Linked DNA regions of Homo sapiens: all the other regions are linked to region 2. Evidence: promoter capture Hi-C in 16 types of primary human blood cells and fetal thymus (Javierre and others, 2016). All regions are on one chromosome and are shown on one strand. The core of a region is centred on a gene start or on the middle of the fragment in contact, and the rest is flanking DNA. Distances in the headings are between cores, read along the strand shown.

Evidence for each region. Contacts are between HindIII fragments. The CHiCAGO score rates a contact against its expected background, and 5 or more counts as called.
Region 1: the fragment with the promoter of PSMA5 here is called in contact with the fragment with the promoter of STRIP1 in region 2 in 4 of 17 cell types (non-activated CD4 T cells, total CD8 T cells, activated CD4 T cells and 1 more); the score reaches 6.6 in non-activated CD4 T cells.
Region 3: a fragment that was not itself captured here is called in contact with the fragment with the promoter of STRIP1 in region 2 in 1 of 17 cell types (monocytes); the score reaches 5.1 in monocytes.

The regions. Positions count from the first base shown.
Region 1 is chr1:109,424,615-109,427,779 of GRCh38, reverse strand. PSMA5 (proteasome 20S subunit alpha 5) reads left to right here and starts at 1,332. Exons shown (of 9, transcript NM_002790.4): 1 at 1,332-1,478. The coding sequence starts at 1,450. RefSeq lists enhancers at 772-831, 338-1,269. The HindIII fragment of the contact is 5,034 bases long and covers 1-3,165 here.
Region 2 is chr1:110,032,790-110,036,175 of GRCh38, reverse strand. STRIP1 (striatin interacting protein 1) reads right to left here and starts at 1,552. Exons shown (of 21, transcript NM_033088.4): 1 at 1,359-1,552. The coding sequence starts at 1,538. It overlaps LOC105378895 (a long non-coding RNA gene), which reads left to right and starts at 737. Exons shown (of 3, transcript XR_947693.3): 1 at 737-767; 2 at 2,745-2,827. RefSeq lists silencers at 958-1,027, 1,268-1,487 and an enhancer at 1,488-1,877. The HindIII fragment of the contact is 6,759 bases long and covers 350-3,386 here.
Region 3 is chr1:109,476,488-109,480,043 of GRCh38, reverse strand. It overlaps SYPL2 (synaptophysin like 2), which reads right to left. Exons shown (of 6, transcript NM_001040709.2): 4 at 3,067-3,268; 5 at 2,035-2,226; 6 at 1-666. The coding sequence ends at 496. Among named protein-coding and RNA genes, the nearest start is that of ATXN7L2, 5.6 kb to the left of the region's middle. RefSeq lists an enhancer at 1,992-2,511. The HindIII fragment of the contact is 4,180 bases long and covers 1-3,556 here.

The DNA.
Region 1 (3,165 bases), core at 83-2,582, 610 kb after region 2:
GAGAGATACAGGCCTTGAGAGGTTAAGGACTTGACTAGTGGTATCACATTAACAACTGGAAATGAGATGCTGGCATTTCCCTTTCCAGCATATACTGCCTGATAAATGATTTCTTTCCCCCGACTCCAGCTTTAAGGTGTAAGTGACAAATAGAAATTGTTCATGTTTATGGTATACAACGTGACGTTTTGATATACATATATATACACACACACACTGCAAATAATTAAATGAAGCTAATCAACATAATCCATCATCTCACATACTTTCCTGTGGTGAGAACATTTAAGGTGTACCCTCTTCACAATTTCAAGTACACAATATATGATTATTAACTATAGAACTCATCCACCTTCTCTGACTGAAACTTTGTATCATTTGACCAACATTTCCCTATATTCCCCACCCCCGTGCCAAGACTTCTTACTTGCCTTTCTTGAACAAATACTTGAATTACAGTGTTATTACGAAGCTGCAAAGTTGCTCCTCAAGCAACTTATTGAAGGGAAGCAAGAAGCGTCGAAAAAGAAAGCGCTTTTTTTTTTTTTTTTTTTTTCGGATAGGGTTTGGCTGTTGCCCAGGCTGGAGTGCAATAGCACGATCTGGGCTCAAAGAAAACACTTATTTTTCACAAACAACAGAAAAAGCAGTGAATATTTTGAAGTCTGGATCCTGAACTCTAGGTTATTTAGGTCTGAAACCTGTACTAGGGGGAGGGGTGCAAGAAAGAGTTGATAAAATTACCTTAACCATGTGGAAACTTTAAGACTTTCTTACATACTAACCCCTCGCCCCCCACTTTTCTCAATAAACGAGCCAAACTGGCTGAAACGAAGGGACTCGTCCGCGGCGCCGGCTCAGACCCACTGTAGCCGACTCATTACCGCCCAAAGTCCTGGAGCCCTCGACCGGGCATGGAGAACACCGTGGAGGAACCCTAAGAGAGGGAATCCTGCGAAGAGAAGTCAGGTGGTGGCCTTGCCGGAAACGGGACCAAAGTCCTCTAGCTGGGATTACGGGAGCCGGCGAGGGACCTATTATGTCAGGGTTCAGACAACCCAGCTCTGCATGCAAGCCTTTCCAATTGCCAGTCTTGGGGCGGGCTCACATCTTCTCTACAAGGCGAACTCACTACACGCCTTGGGTGCCTATCGTCCCTAGCAACCACCCGCGATTTAAGGCGGAAGTACCTCCCTGGTCCTCCTCCTCCTCCGGACCAACCAAGCCCTCGTGAGGAAGCGCGTTGGCCCAATCACCTAGGCGGGAACTACTACCAGCCAATAGGAAGCAGGCACAGGAGGGCGGGCTAAAGAGGTCGCGGTCGCACGCGCAGTTGGTCCTTAGTACTGCGGCCGTGTGGGTGAGTTGGCTGCCGGTGAGTTGGGTGCCGGTGGAGTCGTGTTGGTCCTCAGAATCCCCGCGTAGCCGCTGCCTCCTCCTACCCTCGCCATGTTTCTTACCCGGTCTGAGTACGACAGGTCCGTGCAGCTGGGGGACGTCGGGTGGGAATTATGGGTGGGCAGGCCCGGGACCTGGCCGCGCGGCCTGGGTTCTGCCGTGTCATGGGGCTCCCCAGGAACCCGAGACTGGCCGGACCTGGGGATGTTATGCCCTCCTCAGGCGCCCGCCGTCCTTCCCCAAGCTAGACCACATCGGCGGCACTTGTCCTACCGCTGAGTCACCCCTGGGTCCTAACTCGGTGCGGAAGCGAGAAGCTCCGGCTGGTGCTTGGTAAAGAAGGCGTGAGGAGCCGGAACTCCTACCTTGAACCCGGAGAAGGCCAAGGGTCACTCTTTGCTCCGTTCATCTTTTCGTGCCTAGTATGACTGCCTTGAACAAACAAACAAAAAGTTAAACGTGCTTCCTGGAAGAAAAAGCAACTGGTTTGTAGTAGGGCATGCTGCGGTGTATAGTTTCTTCAGAAGCGCGAAGGCAGTCGTAGCTTTGGCTGGATATATTGTCTGGAGTCTGATTTTATAGGAACTGGAATTTAGAATGGTTTTCAAGAGATTTCTCATCATGCCGATTCCAATTGACCAAAATTTTTTCTGACTTTTTAAAAGTTTAAAGCAAGTTTTAAAAAACTTTTGTGGTATGAAAATGTTCACAATATTAAGTTGTACATATATATGCTGTAGACATTTTTACTTTCAGTTTCTGTTTTCGTCAGTTAAGTTTTTACATAGCTACTCTTTTTTAAAGTCAGGGAAGGCAGACATTTTCTTTGTACTGAGTGGTATGAGATGCTGCATTTCCTGTCAAGTATATGCTGATCCTGTCGAAGTTTTACCACCTGCAGTTACCACTTTTTCATCTTTTTTACTGACTCGTAGAAGATGTGTGTGAAGTTTTGACATATTTCCCCACTGTCCTATAAAGTGACTTTGTTGGTCGATATTTAACTTCCAGAACATTGAAGAGAATCATCTTCGGGTGACATAATTTTGAGTTAGGGTGTGTATGATAGAAATTGTTATGCTTATCAGAAGGCATTTATTAAATTTTGTGGCCATTTACTTAACATATGTATTGACTGCTTTGTTACTTATTTTTCTGTCTTCCCAAGACGGCCTAAAATACATCCCTTTTTATTCTCTTAGTTAATGTGCTTGAGTGCTTGCTGTGAACAAGGCACTGTTCTAGGTGCTGGTGCTACAGCAATGGACAAAATCAAGCTCCTTGCTCGCATATAGGAGACTCTTTTGAGACAGTCTCGCTCTGTGGCCCAGGCTGGAGTGCAGTGACGTGATCTTGGCTCACTGCAACCTCCCCCTCCTGGGTTTTGTTTGTTTTTGAGACGGAGTCTCGCTCTGTCGCCAGGCTGCAGTGCAGTGGCATGATCTCGGCTCACTGCAACCTCCGCCTCCTGGGTTCAAGCGATTCTCCTGCCTCAGCCTCCCGAGTAGCTGGGACTACAGGCGCGCGCCACCACTCCCAGCTAATTTTTGTATTTTTAGTAGAGACAGGGTTTCACCATGTTGGCCAGGATGGTCTCGATCTTTTGACCTCGTGATCCACCTGCCTTGGCCTCCCAAAGTGCTGGGATTACAGGAGTGAGCCACCGCGCCTGGCCTGCCGCCTGGGTTTAAGCAATTCTCTGACTCAGCGTCCTGAGTAGCTGGGATTACAGGCGGTGCCACCACGCCCGGCTAATTTTTGTGTTTT
Region 2 (3,386 bases), core at 303-2,802:
CGGCCTCTATGTGGAAATTAAAGGGTACAAAGAGAAATTACAATTCGTCAGAGGGTATCTATTTGACCATTCGTAGCTACTCTGGAAAATTTTAAACCATTTTTCAAAATGATAACTCCTCTCATGATGAAGGTAGGTTCACCCCCCTGCACTTTCGTAATCTTCCACTTGAAAAACTGAGTAGTTAACACTGATGTCCGTCATCCCACCATGCCAGGGCTCCTAAATGGTCAGTGTTTTTGTTTTTTTCAAATAATTCACTCCAAGCTCAAATTACGTCTACTTCGGGCTTGCCAATTGTTGACATGTTTTCTCAGGGGTTTAGCCTTGCTAACAAAAAATAAAAGCTTCTGAGGAACTGATTCCACAGGTCTAAAGGTAGTATCATTGCTCTTTGGTATGAATTGGTACATTATGCTTGGACAACTAGGAATTCCCTCTCATTAACTTGGCTGATCAGTTTGGCTGCTGATCAATCTAGGAGATGGCATAGTAAGTGCTCTGGGAACCTGCTCATTAAGAAGCCCTAAAACTCCGCGACATGAGTATCTTCATTCATGAATTCTGCAAAAGGAGGCAGTGGGAGGAATTCCTTAACTTGGGGTGAGGTTACTAGTCAGTTCCAGACTATGCCATCTCCAGAACGGCAGGAACGGCTCACTAGCGAGACAGGAAGGAATGTTGGGTCCTAACGCATGCTTAAAATGTCTATTTCTCATCTTTAACAGTTCAGTATCAGGCGCACTGGGCACAATAGCCCACCACAGGTACTGTTAACCCATGGCCTGATCTGGCTCAGGTCAGAAGAACAGGACATGTTTCCCCCTCCTACTCTACTCTCAATGATAATTAGCTCGGTCCGGCTCTAAGTTCCTTCCAGATCCTCGCCGGCGCCTTCCCTGCCCACACGCGCCTTCCTCTGCGAGCGGCAGGACCCAGGAGCTGGAGCCCGCGTGCCAGGGACAGACGCCCGAGATGATTAGGTTGGGGGCGCGGCAGCCCAGCGCCCTGGAGTGCACCAAGACCCCCGACTCCTCACCCCCGAGCTGGGGCGAGAGCGGCTTCCCCAGGGGCTAGGGCCTCGAGGCCACGCCCACAGTCGGGGCCCAGGGGAGCAAACCAGCAGTCGCCGGCCACGGGAAGCTCTCCCGGGCGGCGGAGCTAGAGCAAGGACTCATGCTCCAGACCCCAGGAGCTGCCAGCCTCGCTTCCTGCTCCTTTCGCTGTATAGTGACAGTTCTCGGCCGGACTCTACCGAGCCCTCCGGGAAGCCCAACCTGGCCCCTAGAGTGGCCCCGGGCCCGGGACCCCCGGCGCCGCCCGACCCGGTGCGAGCCTCGCCCCCCGAAGCTCCTGACCTCTGAGTCTTTGCGCTGGTTGCGGTTGAACTCGCGGGCTTTGCCCCCAGGCAGGAGGCCCGCGGCGGCCCGCGGTGCCCCGGGTGGTGGCTGTGCGGCTGCCGGCGGCGGAGGTGGCGGGGGCTGGGGCTGTTTGTTGTTCACGATCAGTGGGCCCGGACCGCCGACTGCCGGCTCCATCTTGGCTGCTCCACACCCCCAGCTTAACTCGCGCACAGCCGCCGTGATGCAACTCTCGCGTGATTTTCTCCAGGAAATTTCCCTGGCCGCCATATTAAGTGTGGCGGCCAGTGTTAGAAGCCATCTTGGCTGACCAATACCTCGCGATATTCTGTCTGCAGTCCTTCCCTTGTTGATCTTTTTAGTTTTCCACCTTCCTTTCAGTTTCAGTTTAGATGTAATTTTATCTGTGAGGCTTCCCTTAGCTTCTTCAGTCAGTTTAGTTACCCCTCCTTCCTCTAAATCGCTTTGCACTTATAACTCATAGCCTTGTTCAAGGCTTAGGCGGAATTTTGTAATGAACAAAATGGATAGGATCCTAGTCTTCACAGAGTTACCGTTGTGACAAGTGCTTGTCATTCATTCATTCAACAAACATTTAATAAATGTCTCCTGTGCACCAAGCAGTGGGATAAAATGAGGAACAAGTGTCTGCAGTCACGGTACATAACAGTGCTTGGTGGGTCAGACAAACAATAGACAAATATAGAGAAATAAATGCTGAAAAGTGTTAAAGGAAAATTTGTTCATGGCACTAATTAAAGATGGTAAGGCAGACTTTATGTAAGAGAGCCCATGGTGATAGTTACAGGGACCACTACAACCAGATCTTGCAGTGAAGAAGAGGAATTAGACTCAACTCTGACTCCAACAAGATATAGTGGGGATTTATAACCAAAGAGCAGGATGAGGGTCAGTGGACGGAAAACTACTAAGAGAAACATCAAGGATAAGAAGTTTCTTGCTAAACTGACCTAACAGGATTATTGCTGAAAGCAGGACAGGGTGCTAAGATGTTGAGGGTGGTCAGATACCGAGTGCTATGGTTTGACTGTGTCCCCCAAATTCCATACGTTGGAAACTCAATCCTAAAGTTCATATGTTGATGGTATTTGGAGGTGGAGCCTTGAGGGGGTGATTAGGATTAGATAAAATCGTCAGGGTAGGGCCCCTGTGATGGGACTGGTGGCTTTATAAGAAGAGGAAGAGTGATCTGAGCTGGCACACATGCTCTTGCTTTCTCACCGTGAGAGGCTCTCTACCATGCAGTTTAAGAAAGCCCTCACCAAATGCAACCCCTCGACTTTGGGCTCCCCAGACTCCAGAACTGCAAAAAATAACTTTCTTTCCTTTATGAATTACCCAGTGTTTTGTATTCTGTTATAGCAACAAAAAATGGATTAAGACGCCAAGAGTGGAGAGTCCCTGCACAAACTGGATTCAACAAGGACAGAAAGGAAGCCCAAACGGTTAGTCCTAGTAGGCAGAGGACTCACAGGAGCCTGACTAGAGTTTTGGCCAAAGAAGAGAATCTTTGTCAGAAGTAACAAAAATTGAGAGGTTAAAAGGTGGCAGTGGGGCGGGGGGCAGGGGTTGGTGGAGGCGGAGAATGTGGCTATAATATAAGCATGCTGCCCAAGGAAGGCAGGCCTGAGGGTGTGATTTTAGATGAGTTCTGAAAGAAGTGAGGAGAAGCCCTGCAAAGTTCCAGGAAGGGCACACAGACAGATGAAACAGCTAAATGCAAAAGCCCTGATGTTAGTGTCTGGAATTGAGTGAGCCAAGGGAGGGATAGTAATTGATAGAGCCATATAATGATAATGCAGGGACCAGAAGAATGCAGGGCCTTGAAGGTAGTGGGAAGGAGTTTGAATTTTATTCTAAGTGAAATGGAAAACCATTCGAGGGTGTTAACCAGGGAGATGTTATGGTGTGATGTTTACAAGTTCAATCTGGCTGCTTTTGGAGAAGGGATTGGAGAGTTGCAAGAGTGGATAAGGCAAGACATGTTAGGGGACCATGTAGATG
Region 3 (3,556 bases), core at 628-3,127, 560 kb after region 2:
GGACTAGATGACAGCCACTGAGGAGGGGTCGCCAAACCACTATTGGGGCCTCCACACAAGGGACCAGAGGGGAAGGCTACTAGCTGATTTCCCTTCCCCCTAATATTGTTGAAGCCGGACAGGTTGACAGAAAGGTGGCTGCTAGGAACCAGTCTCAGAGCACTGGTTTCCTGCCCCCAACCCTCACCTGCAGCAGAGGCTGGTTCTCAGAGACTGTAAGGGTACAAGTAAGACCCCAAGTAAGATACCTGGGTCCAGGCACTGCACAAGAAGCACTGAGCTCCTGCCATTCATGGCTCCAGCAAGAAGGAGGATAGGAAGCCACTGAGAGGGCTGCCCAGGTTTCCAACAGCTGATGCCTGCCCATCGTCTCAAAGCTCAAAGACCAGAATGATGGGGGAGGGGAATTGGAGGAGGAGGAAGAGAAAGGTCCTGGAAGCCGGAGGTGGTTGAAGAGGTGCTGTCCAGTTCGGGAATAGCCAGGTGGGGGGCTGCTTACTGCTTCTCCACTGCTCCCTGCTCAGCTGCACTCTCCTGGCTGGGACCCTGGCCCTGGTCCTGGTCCTGGTCCTGGTCCTGGCCCTGGCCCTGTCCATGCCACGGGGTCTCCTTGAACACAAACCAACAGTTCCCGGCCCACAGGAAGAAGTTGATAAAGCCAAAGAGCTGCAAAGACATCAGGGGAATTTGTGAGAATAGTCAGGGGGTCATTGTGGGAACAGGGAGGGGGAGTTCCTATTGCAGTTGGGGTTGGGGCTTGTGCAGGGAAGAAGCACAGAGGACTAGAAAGACTAAGACAGAGAGCTCGGTATAGAGGCAGGGCTCAGGACCATCAACTGTTTAGGGGAATCCCAGGTGAAAGTGTCTAATTCTGTCCACACCATGCACCCAAGCTGTAGCTTGGTCACTAGCAGAATCTGACCCTTTAGAGGAGCATCGTGCAAAGCATAGCAAGGAGCCAAGCAAAAGTCAGCCCTGGGGCGCCTCCCACAGCACGCGTGAGGCCCTGTTCGGAGCACCTTCCGCCAGGTAGGTGTGGCAGGAGCTGTCCAAGGTGCTCCTTCCCTGTGATCAGGCACCTAGCCAGGGCTATGTTCAAATAGTTATTCAACATATTTTAAAAACCTCACAGCAGGAAGTACTTAGAGGGAAGTGTACTGATGTCCCAAATTATCTTTGAAATGCACTAAAAACAAGACGGATTGATGGATGAAGAAGTGAATAAATATGTGATAAAGCAAGTCTAGTAAAAAGTTAATGGCACAGTCTAGGTGGTGAGTGCATGGGTATTCACTGTAAAATTCTTTCAACTTTGTTGTACCTGTGAACATTTCTACAATAAAATTTTTTTGGGGGGGAACCATAAGCAGGGTTCCAGCAAGTTCCAGACGTGTGTTCCTGGTGTGCCAGCCATTAAACATTTCAGATGTGGGAACAAGTCATTTTCAGAGCAGGGCTGAGGTGGCTGGGATGACGGGCAGCATTTGAGAAGCTCAAGACCTCAGCTCTTTACCAATGGATATGGACATATTTCAACATTCTAACAACTGGGATGGCCAAATCCATATGCATCCAGCAGACCCACTACTGCTCCAAAGCCCCTTTCCAGGCTGGAGGGCTGAGTGACAGTAAGCCCCTTCCCACTCATGCTGGGTCTGCTCGCAGCTTCAAGCTCAGCCACAGCCCCAGGCTCCCCTTTATGTGTTCACACACATTGTGTAGAACAGGCAGGAGGAGGGGAGACATCACAGAGAGCGTGCCTAGAGGTGGGGAAATGAGAAGGGAATTGGAGGCAGAGTGCAGAAGGAGGAAGGAACAGAAGGCTAAGTGGCTTTTGGGTTCCCCTCATCCCAAAATGTCCTCTCAGGGTCAGCCAGGAGCCAGCAGCCAGCATGAAGCGCAGTGAGGGCACCAGCTCCAGGTGCAGGGGACACCAGCTCTGGGACACCCTCTCTTTCCTTTCAGGACCTGCTAGCTGGGACAGGCCTGGGCAGCAGGGCTGGTGCTGCTTCCTGCAGTGGCCACAGGTCTCACCACGGAGATGTTGGCCAGGCCCATAGAGGGCGTGGCCCCGGCACTGCACACTGCTTCCTCTCCATGGCACACTGACATGGCTGCTGTCAAGCTGGATGGTCGTGTGGCCCCCTTGACATCGGTCAGGCCCTTGCCCCAGGCAGCTGCAGCTACCAGCCAGAAGAAGGTGAAGGAGACAGTCACACAGAAGTCCTGGGAGGAGCAGAGGGATGGGAAATACACTCAGAAAGGCCCCATGATTCCCTTGCTTCTTTTCCACTTGCCATGATACTGGCAATCCCAGGGTGCCAGGACAGTTGCCTCTTCCCATCCTACCCAACACCTAGAACCCAGGTGGTCCTGAGGCATCTGTTCACTGCCCCCAAAGGAGTCCTGCCACTCAGGCTAGCCCTGCTAATGCCCTCAGATCTAAGATCTGGCAACAGTGTACCAAGGCATCGTTGGTCAGCCTCACCCCAAAACCCACTCATCCCAAGTGGAGCCTAAATTCCCCACTCTTCCCTCCCAGCTTTTTCTTTGATCACCATTGCTCAGATACAAGTGGCAGACTGCAGGACGCAAATGGGGTCCCTTAAGGCACCCCTTCCGCCTTGCATGCCTGGGATAGGAAGAGAGTAAAGAGGAATAATATTAATAATCGCTAATGCTTATTGAGACTAACTATGTACTAGATACATGCATTCTCATTTTTTCACATACACACACAAAACTATGAAGCAGGTATTATTTTATCCCCATTTTATAGTTAAGGAAACTGCGATTTAGAGAGGTTATTTAACTTGTCCGAGATCACACAGCAAGTAAGGGGCCATGCTGGGATCTGAACCCAGGCAGTCTAACTCCAGAGCCTGCTTGTGTATGGTGCTATTGTGCCTCCTGTGAACAGGAGCAAGCAACGGGAGGTTGATGGAGGCAGAGGTTCCACCATGGGGGTGGAAGCCGCCATGCTTGTCCTCTGCTCCAGTTCTGACCTCAACCCCCTCACAAACATCTGTTTCTCCACCCCATTCCTTCTGGCCTGTGCTGACTCACCACCAGCGGGAAGCGTTTGTTCTCTGTGTAGAGGTTGTGGAAGCGCAGGTAGATAACTAGGGCAGCCATGGTATAGAAGAAGGAAAAGATGCCAAGGGTCACGAAGAACTCGGCGGGTGCAGAGAAGTCCCCCATGAGGTGCATGGTCTTGGAGCTGGACTCTTCATCGCAGAGGGGCATCTCATATTGGATCCGGTGCAACCTGCAGGTGGCAGGGGAGGCCATCCTGAGCTCAGGCAATCCTCTCTCTCCCTGGCCCAGAAGTAGTCCTGTGCTAGTTCTCAGCAGGGGACTCTTACAGAGCCAAGAAAGGGGTCATGTAAGGAGGCAAGTTTCTGGAAGGAACCTTGCAGTTAAGATGGGAACTCCCCCGAAATTTCCAGTAAAACTCTACCTTCCCCTCAGCTGCTCCCCAACCCACCCCACTCATCTACCCTGCCCAGACATGGTGACCATGTATTCCCAAGTGTCTCCAGGGCCCTTTAGGTCA